Regions from separate parts of the Homo sapiens genome. Here region 1 is linked to region 2. The links are contacts of gene promoters, found by promoter capture Hi-C in human tissues and cell types (Jung and others, 2019). All regions are on one chromosome and are shown on one strand. Each heading gives the region's core, a stretch centred on a gene start or on the middle of the fragment in contact. The rest is flanking DNA. Distances are from core to core; before and after follow the strand shown. Region 1 has its middle 99 kb from the start of GCFC2. Region 2 holds the start of GCFC2 (GC-rich sequence DNA-binding factor 2).

Region 1 (3,766 bases), core at 229-2,728, 99 kb after region 2:
AGGGTTTTGAGTAGAAGCATGATATGAGCTAGTGCAGGTGGTAAGAGGATCTCTCTGGCTCTTGGCGGAGAGTAGACTGTGGAGGGGCAGGAGGGAAGCAGAAATACTGGTTGAACTGAACCTGAGTCAGAACATATGGAGTCCTACTCTTACACAGGTGTGTACAACCACAGCTTGTCTCTGGTTTCCTAGGGGAGTTTGCTTAGCTTAGGGTGAGGCATATAACATTCCTGGGATGCCTTGTATGACCCATAGCACTGTGTGCCCCTTCAGTGTGCCATATCTAAGCTGTGTTCCAGGCAGCGCTTGACAGCTGTTTACCTATTCCTCAAACTTCTTATGTCTCATTGTTATGCTTGCTGACTGACATGCCATACTGTATAACTTAAGCCTGGGCAAGTCTAATTGCCATGCATTTTTCATCCTTTTAAAATTAAAGCAAGTATATGTGTGTGTGTGTGTGTATAAATATATATATAAATATATATAAATAAATATATAAAAATAAATATAAATAAATAAATATAAATATATAAAAATAAATATAAATATATATAAATAAATATATAAATAAGTATATATAAATAAATATATATAAATATAAATAAATATATATGTGTGTATACATAAACATATATATGTGTGTGTGTGTGTGTATGTATATATATATATATATATCCCATGTTATTTTATGAGGCTTTCCTGCTCAGCTGTCAGTTTGACAGCTATGGTTCTTCTCGCAGTACCAGAAGCCTGGGTGGTGTGAGGAAGACCCCCTTGAGGGCTGATTAAAATCCCTGCCTGTGTCACCTGCCTGAAACAGAAGCCTAGTGCCTTCTGCCGTCAGGCAAAACACTTCCAACACTCAACATGAGGCACTGAGTTTCATTCTTTGGAATGAAATTTAAACCTGCATCTGCTGTAAGGTGTTTGGAATTTAGCCCAGCTGTCAGATTAGATCTAACTTCAATCGTGGTGAAATTGTGAAGTCAGTAAAGTTTGTATTTGGTGTCCTCGGATTACTTCTACTACTAATGCTACACACATCTACAATAAAAATAACCACTGTCATCACCACCACAGCAACAGCTAACTTTTTATTATGCCAGATGCTGTACATCCATGATCTCATTTAAACCTTTCAACAGCTTTATGAGACAGGTATTGTTATTATTTCCATTTGCAGAGGGGAAAATGGACACTTAGAGAAATAAATCACATGCCCAGGTAGCTGGAGTACTTGAGATCCAAATTTAGGCCAGCTTCCCTGAGTCCACATTCTCAATTACTATGCTGTGTGGCATCTAAGACTTCCTGTTTTTCTGCCTTGCCCATTTATTCAGTCACTCATTGTACCATATCGTTAGTTCCCTCTGGGTCCTTCTGTTCATGGCCTATAAAAACTTACTGAAAGAAAAGAATGTTCTGACAAGACATGTTCTAGAGCCTGCTCTGTTGCCTTCATAGATCTTTTTTCCCATTACCCCTCTTAACTATTATTTTGCAGATAAGCATATAAGGTTCCTTTAGGTTGGGTTCTCCAGAAGCAGACTCTGAGTTGAGGATTCCTGTGGAGGGGATTTATTGGGATATGTTCCTAGTAGGAGCGAAGAATTCGGGACTGGGAAGAGAAGAAGGTCACATAAGGGTACTCAGCTTTGGCTCAAAACCACGAAAGCCTCATAATCACTGTGGGTCTAACCTGGGAGGTGTCCTGTTTGCAAAGCAAGGTGATTGGGATATTTATATCCTCTGTACACAACAGGACAGACACTGACTAAGAGTTGCACACGGCCAGGTGCGGTGGCTCACGCCTGTAATCCCAGCACTTTGGGAGGCCGAGGCGGGCGGATCACAAGGTCAGGAGTTCGAGACCAGCCTTGCCAATATGGTGAAACCCTGTCTCTACTTAAAATACAAAAATTAGCCAGGCAAGGTGGCGGATGCCTGTAGTCCCAGCTACTCGGGAGGCTGAGGCAGGAGAATCTCTTGAACCCGGGAGGCAGAGGTTGTAGTGAGCCGAGATCAGGCCACTGCACTCCAGCCTGGGAGACAGAGCGAGACTCTCTCAAAAAAAAAAAAAAAAAAAAAAAAAAAAAAGAGTTGCACACGTCCTCAGCCCTTTAGGCTCTCTGTCAGCCTGAAGGCAGCCTCTGACAAAAAGATGGAGTGCAGGCCTTTGAGAAATAAGAACATAAGCCAGTCTGCACAAAAATGGAAAAAGGATGAGAAAAGAAATGAGCAGAGCCCTGGCAGCATCTTTCAGAGGCCTAATGAGAGGATATGAATTTCTTCAAAGTGGAAGAGCTGCAATTAAAACCCAGTTAATTCACTTCTAAGCCTGGGTCTTCGTATTTCTTCAGTGACAAGTAATACTGAGGTGTTTTGAGCAATATTTGCAGGAGACAATGGTAAGTCATAACCCCAGGAATTTGCAGGAGACATAGTGGCAAGTCCTAACCTCAAGAAGCTACTTCTATCTACAGGTAAAACAAATTAGGCAAAAGAGATTCAGCAATAGTCCTGCTTTGGGGTTCCTAGAGAAGCTTATACTCTCTCTCACTCTCTGTCTCTCTCTCTCTTCCTCCTTCCTCCCTCCCTTTTTCCCCTCCCTCCTCTCCTCCCCACCCTTCCTCTAAACAGCTTTGTTGAAATGTAATTTACATGTCATATAACTCATCTATTCAAAATATACATTTCAGTAGCTATTAATCTTTTCACAGAGTTGTGCAACCATCAACTCCATTTAATTTTAGAACATTTTCGTCACACGGAAGAAACCACCCTATCCATTGGTAGTCACTCCCTATTCCTTCTTCCACTGAGACCCTGACAACTACTAGTCTACTTTCCACCTGTGTGGATGTGCTGATTCTGGATATTTTATACAAGTGGAACCACGTAATATTGACTCTATGGGTCTGGCTTATTTCATTTAGCACAGTGTTGTCTGGGTTCATCCATGTTGTAGCGTGTGTCAGTACTTCATATTTTTAAAATGGCTGAATAATATTACATTTTGTGGGTAGTACATTTTGTTTATTCATGCGTCAGTCGATGTACATTTGGGTTGTTTGCCATGATGAGTAATGCTGCTATGAACATTCATGTGCAAGTTTTTGTGTGAACATTTGTTTCCTGTTTTCTTGGGTATATACCTGGGGTAGGATTGCTGGTTCTAATGCCAACACTAGGTTCAATTTTTGAGGAACTGCCAAACTGCTTCCCAAAGCAACAGCACCATTTTGCAGACCCAACAGCAATGCATGAGGGTTCTAATTTCTCCACATTCTTTGCCAACACTTGTTATTGTGTGTCTTTATACCCACAGGCATCTTAGTGGGTATAAAGTAGCATTTTGTTGTGGTTTTGATTTGCATTTCCCATTAGGAATGGAATGCTCGGCTTTTTTCATGTGCTTATTGGCCATTTTTGTGCCTTCCTGGAGAAATGACTATTCAGATCCTTTGCCAATTTTTAATTTATTTTTCTTTATATTATTGAGTTGTAATACTTCTTTATGTATTCTGGACACTAGACCCTTATCAAATATATGATTTGCAAATGTTTTCTCCCATTCTTTGGGTTGTCTTTTCACTTTCTTGATAGTATAGTATCATTTGAAGCACAAAAGTTATAAATTTTAATGAAATATAATTTATTTTTTTTCCTTTGGTTGCCTATGCTTTAGATGTCATATCTAAGAAACAATTGCCTTATCCACGGTCACAAAGATTTATATTTTTGTTTTCTTCTGAGATTTTTG
Region 2 (4,312 bases), core at 1,157-3,656:
TTTTTTTTTTTTTTTTTTTTTGAGATAAAGTCTCACTCTGTCACCCAGGCTAGAGTGTAGTGGCACAATCTCAGCTCACTGCAACCTCTGCCTCCCGGGTTCAAGTGATTCTCTGCCTCAGCCTCCTGAGTAGCTGGGATTACAGGCACCCACCACCATGCCTGGCTAATTTTTGTATTTTTAGTAGAGATGGGGTTTCACCATGTTGGCCAGGCTGGGCTCGAACTCCTGATCTCTTGATACACCTGCCTCGGCCTCCTAAAGTGCTGGGATTACAGGTGTGAGCCACTGTGCCCGGCCCGCAACTAACTTTTAAGAAGGGTTAGTTTATTACTTGTTGAGCTGTGTTATATTAAAGCACAACACCCTCAATGATCTAAAAATGCTATTAAGTACTCGTCTTAATCATGTATCTGTCAGAGGCTGTATTTTCTTCAAATACTTCAACCAAAACAAAATAGCACAAGAGATTAAAAGCAGAAACACCTATGACAATTCATCTGTCTTCTATTAATATTTTGCCAGACATTAAAGAGATCTGTAAATTGAAAACAATGCTACTCTTCCTTTTTTGGGGTAATACTTTTCACAAAAATCTTACTTATCCTTACATGTAATAGATTTTTTGTAAGTGAATTAATAAATTTTATTTTTAGTGTGATAAATATTGATAGGTATAACCTACTGAAACAAAAGCTCTTTGGAATCCTTAATCATTTCTAAGAGTCTAAAAGAGGTCCAATTCCCAAAGAGTTTGAGAACCACTATTCTAGAAGGCAAGAGAAAAGGAACTCCTGACTTCAACTTTCATCTACAAAGTTTAACCAGAAAACAAATATAAAAGGTCATGAAAACTTTAGACAAATAGAAGGTCACAAGAAAGACCAAGAAATCACGAAGATCATAAACCTGGAGGACATTATGTTACATGAAATAAGACAGGCACAGAGAGACAAACACCACATGATCTCACATATGTAATCTAAAAAAGTGGAAATCAGAAATCACAGAAGCAGAGAGTCGAGTAGTGGTTAGAAGGGACTGAGTGAGGTTGAGGGTAGTTGGGAAGATACTGGTCAAAGGGCACACATTTTAATTAGACAAGAGGAATTCTATTCTACAACACGGTGACTAAAATTAATAACAATGCATTGCATACTTGAAAATTAGTAAGAGTAGATAGTAAGTGTTCTCACCACAAAAAAAAGTAAGTACCTAAGGTAAAGCAAATGTTAATTAGCTCCATTTAGTCACTGTAGACACATTTCAAACATCATGTTGTACACTATAAGTATATACATTTTTTACTTCTCAATAAATTAATAAAAATCACTTTAATGACAATAAAAAATAATAGGAAGATTTTAGCTCTCAAGACTAACCAAAAACCGTATTCCTCATTAAGCTACAATTCCAACTCAGAGCAGCACATTTTATTTAAACAACTTTATGCTGCCTTACACCTGTATTTAAGAACTCAAAGGTACTTCAAAATGACGACACTATATCTAACACCATTACTGGTACCATCTACAGTGTCATGAATCTCTATCATGCTTCTTTGTGTTGTATATATTACTATTAGTTTTTGCAAATAACTGGTGAAAAAAGAAAATAAACAAAGGGGAATGTCCCAAAACCTAGATTCCTGTACTACTCTGGCTAAATGTTTTCAAGAAAGATAAGTTGGTCAAGTGTCTAAAAGGTACATATAACTTCTGCCCACTTAATAGTATTATAAATTATTGAACTTTGTTGTGACAGTTTAGGTTCTTCATAAACTTTGATAACTGTGTTAGTTATAACTGATGGAGTCAACTGATGGTGAAAACGAAGAGCCTCCCAACTGTACACGATTGTTTTATTTCCCCCAAGGAGTCCAAAAGGCAGATGCAGATAGCGGGCAAGTGCTCGAGCTATTTTCTCGCTCACTACCTTCTGGATAAGTCTTTCTGGATAAGACTCAGCATGGCTTGTGGTCGGCAGCAAGTTATAGAACCCCCAGAGAAGGATCCAGAGACCCCGCGGCCCCTTCCCGCCCTGTGCCGTCACCTCCCCGCTTCCCCGCGTCTCCCTGGACACCTGAGCCTTCGTCCGCGCGGGGAGCCGCTTTGGTGGCACGCCGGGAGCTCGCCCAGACCCGGCCCCGGCCACGAGGGCCCCGAACCCGGTGGGGCAGTCCCGCCACCTGCGCGCGGCCTCCTCCAGAGGGCGGCTCTTCCTCCGCAGAACCCGGGACCGGAAGTTCCCTCGGCGCCCCAGGCTCAGCAGGCGACTCCTCGGCGCCATCGCTGTCGCTGGAATCAGCCGCGCGCTGCCGAAAAGTCCTTTTCGGCCTGTGAGCCATGGCCGAGGCCCGAGCGCCCGGCGCCCTAGAACCCGCTGAACCGCAAGCCGCAGCTTCAGTGCCCGCCCCCTAGGGCGCGCTCCCGCCGCGCCTGGCCGCCGAGTGCGCGCGCCCGTCCCGCCTGCCTTCTGCTCACCGCTACTCTGTCTGCGCCTGCGTGCTTTGGCTCCCTGGATCTGGTAGGCCGAGTTCTGTTCTGGGGCCTGAGTTTGCAAAGCATTCCCTTTGCCAGGTTAGGTTGCGTGGACTGACACCTTAGAGATTTTCACGGCCTATCCGGTCTGAGTCCCACGGAGAGCAGAACTCACGTGCTGTCCTTGTGCAAACCCCATCCAGAAATCAAGCGTTATGCTTTCCGTCCTGGACTGGAGCCAGATCCGTTGTCTTTTACTTTCTGGAGAGAGTGCCCCCTCCAACCAAGATTTAAAACAAACGAAACCCCAGCAGTGTGAGGCTCGGGGTAGGAGGAGATGCCTTTGAGAACAAAACCATAAAGTCTGTACATAAACAATGCATACAGACTAGCAAAAATCAAATGACTTCCCCCAGGCAGCAGGGCTTCAAGAGAGCCTGGTTAAATGTTTTCACCCTTAAAGAAACTATCTAAAAACAAAAAGCTATTGTCTGACGCAAATTTGTTCTATATTCATCAAGCTCTGTCTACTACTGTATCTGTATGGTAGAAATACTATATAATGTTGAGCTACTGCACACCTGTTATCAACTCCATGTTTAGTGGCGTCATATTGAGAGGTGACAGCGGGCCAGCTGGAGTTCCGGGTGGGCATGGGCTTGGCGGGCCTGCACTCGGAGCAGCCGGCCGGCCCTGCCAGCCCCGGGCAGTGAGGGACTTGGCACCCGGGCCAGCGGCTACAGAGGGTGTACTGGGTCCCCTAGCAGTGCCGGCCCACCGGCGCTGTGCTCGATTTCTCGCCGGGCCTTAGCTGCCTTCCCGCGGTGCAGGGCTCGGGACCTGCAGCCCGCCATGCCTGAGCCTCCCATCCACTCCATGGGCTCCTGTGCTGCCCGAGCATCCCCGACGAGCACCACCCCCTGCTCCACGGCGCCCAGTCCCATCGACCACCCAAGGGCTGAGGAGTACGAGCGCACGGCGCCGGACTGGCAGGCAGCTCCACCTGCAGCCCCGGTGCGGGATCCACTAGGTGAAGCCAGTTGGGCTCCTGAGTCTGGTGGGGACATAGAGAGTCTTTATGTCTAGCTCAGGGATTGTAAATACACCAATCAGCACTCTGTATCTGGCTCAAGGTTTGTAAACACACCAATCAGCACCCTGTGTTTAGCTCAAGGTTTATGAGTGCACCAATCGACACTCTGTATCTAGCTGCTCTGGTGGGGCCTTGGAGAACCTTTATGTCTAGCTCAGGGATTGTAAAAACACCAATCGGCACTCTGTATCTAGCTCAAGGTTTGTAAACCCACCAATCAGCACCCTGTGTTTAGCTCAAGGTTTGTGAGTGCACCAATAGACATTCTATCTAGCTGCTCTGGTGAGGCCTTGGAGAACCTGTGTGTGGAAACTCTGTATCTAACTAATCTGATGGGGATGTGGAGAACTTTTGTATCTAGCTCAGGGATTGTAAACGCACCAATCACGGCCCTGTCAAAACAGGCCGCTGGGCTCTACCAATCAGCAGGATGTGGGTGGGGCCAGATAAGAGAATAAAAGCAGGCTGCCCCAGCCAGCAGTGGCAACCCGCTCCGGTCCCCTTCCACAGTGTGGAAGCTTTGTTCTTTCGCTCTTTGCAATAAATCTTGCTACTGCTGACTCTTTGGGTCCACGTGGCTTTTATGAGCTGTAACACTCACCGTGAAGATCTGCAGCTTCATTCCTGAGCCCAGCGAGACCACAAACCCACCAGAAGGAAGAAACTCCAAACACATCTGAACATCAGAAGGGGCAGACCCCAGACGCGCCACCTTAAGAGCTGTAACGCTCACCGCGAG

The links. The method cuts DNA at HindIII sites, captures the fragments that hold promoters and counts their contacts. A contact is called where the count stands out against the background at its distance.
Region 1: a contact is called between a fragment that was not itself captured here and the fragment with the promoter of GCFC2 in region 2, in 2 of the 25 tissues and cell types used here (H1 embryonic stem cells and small bowel).

What each region holds. Positions count from the first base shown.
Region 1 is chr2:75,808,044-75,811,809 of GRCh38, forward strand. No RefSeq gene overlaps it. Among named protein-coding and RNA genes, the nearest start is that of GCFC2, 99 kb to the left of the region's middle. The HindIII fragment of the contact is 7,265 bases long and covers 1-3,766 here.
Region 2 is chr2:75,708,509-75,712,820 of GRCh38, forward strand. GCFC2 (GC-rich sequence DNA-binding factor 2) reads right to left here and starts at 2,407. Exons shown (of 17, transcript NM_003203.5): 1 at 2,083-2,407. The coding sequence starts at 2,347. LOC105374813 (a long non-coding RNA gene) reads left to right here and starts at 2,431. Exons shown (of 3, transcript XR_940260.2): 1 at 2,431-2,526. RefSeq lists a silencer at 1,939-2,238 and an enhancer at 3,217-3,788. The HindIII fragment of the contact is 14,441 bases long and covers 1-4,312 here.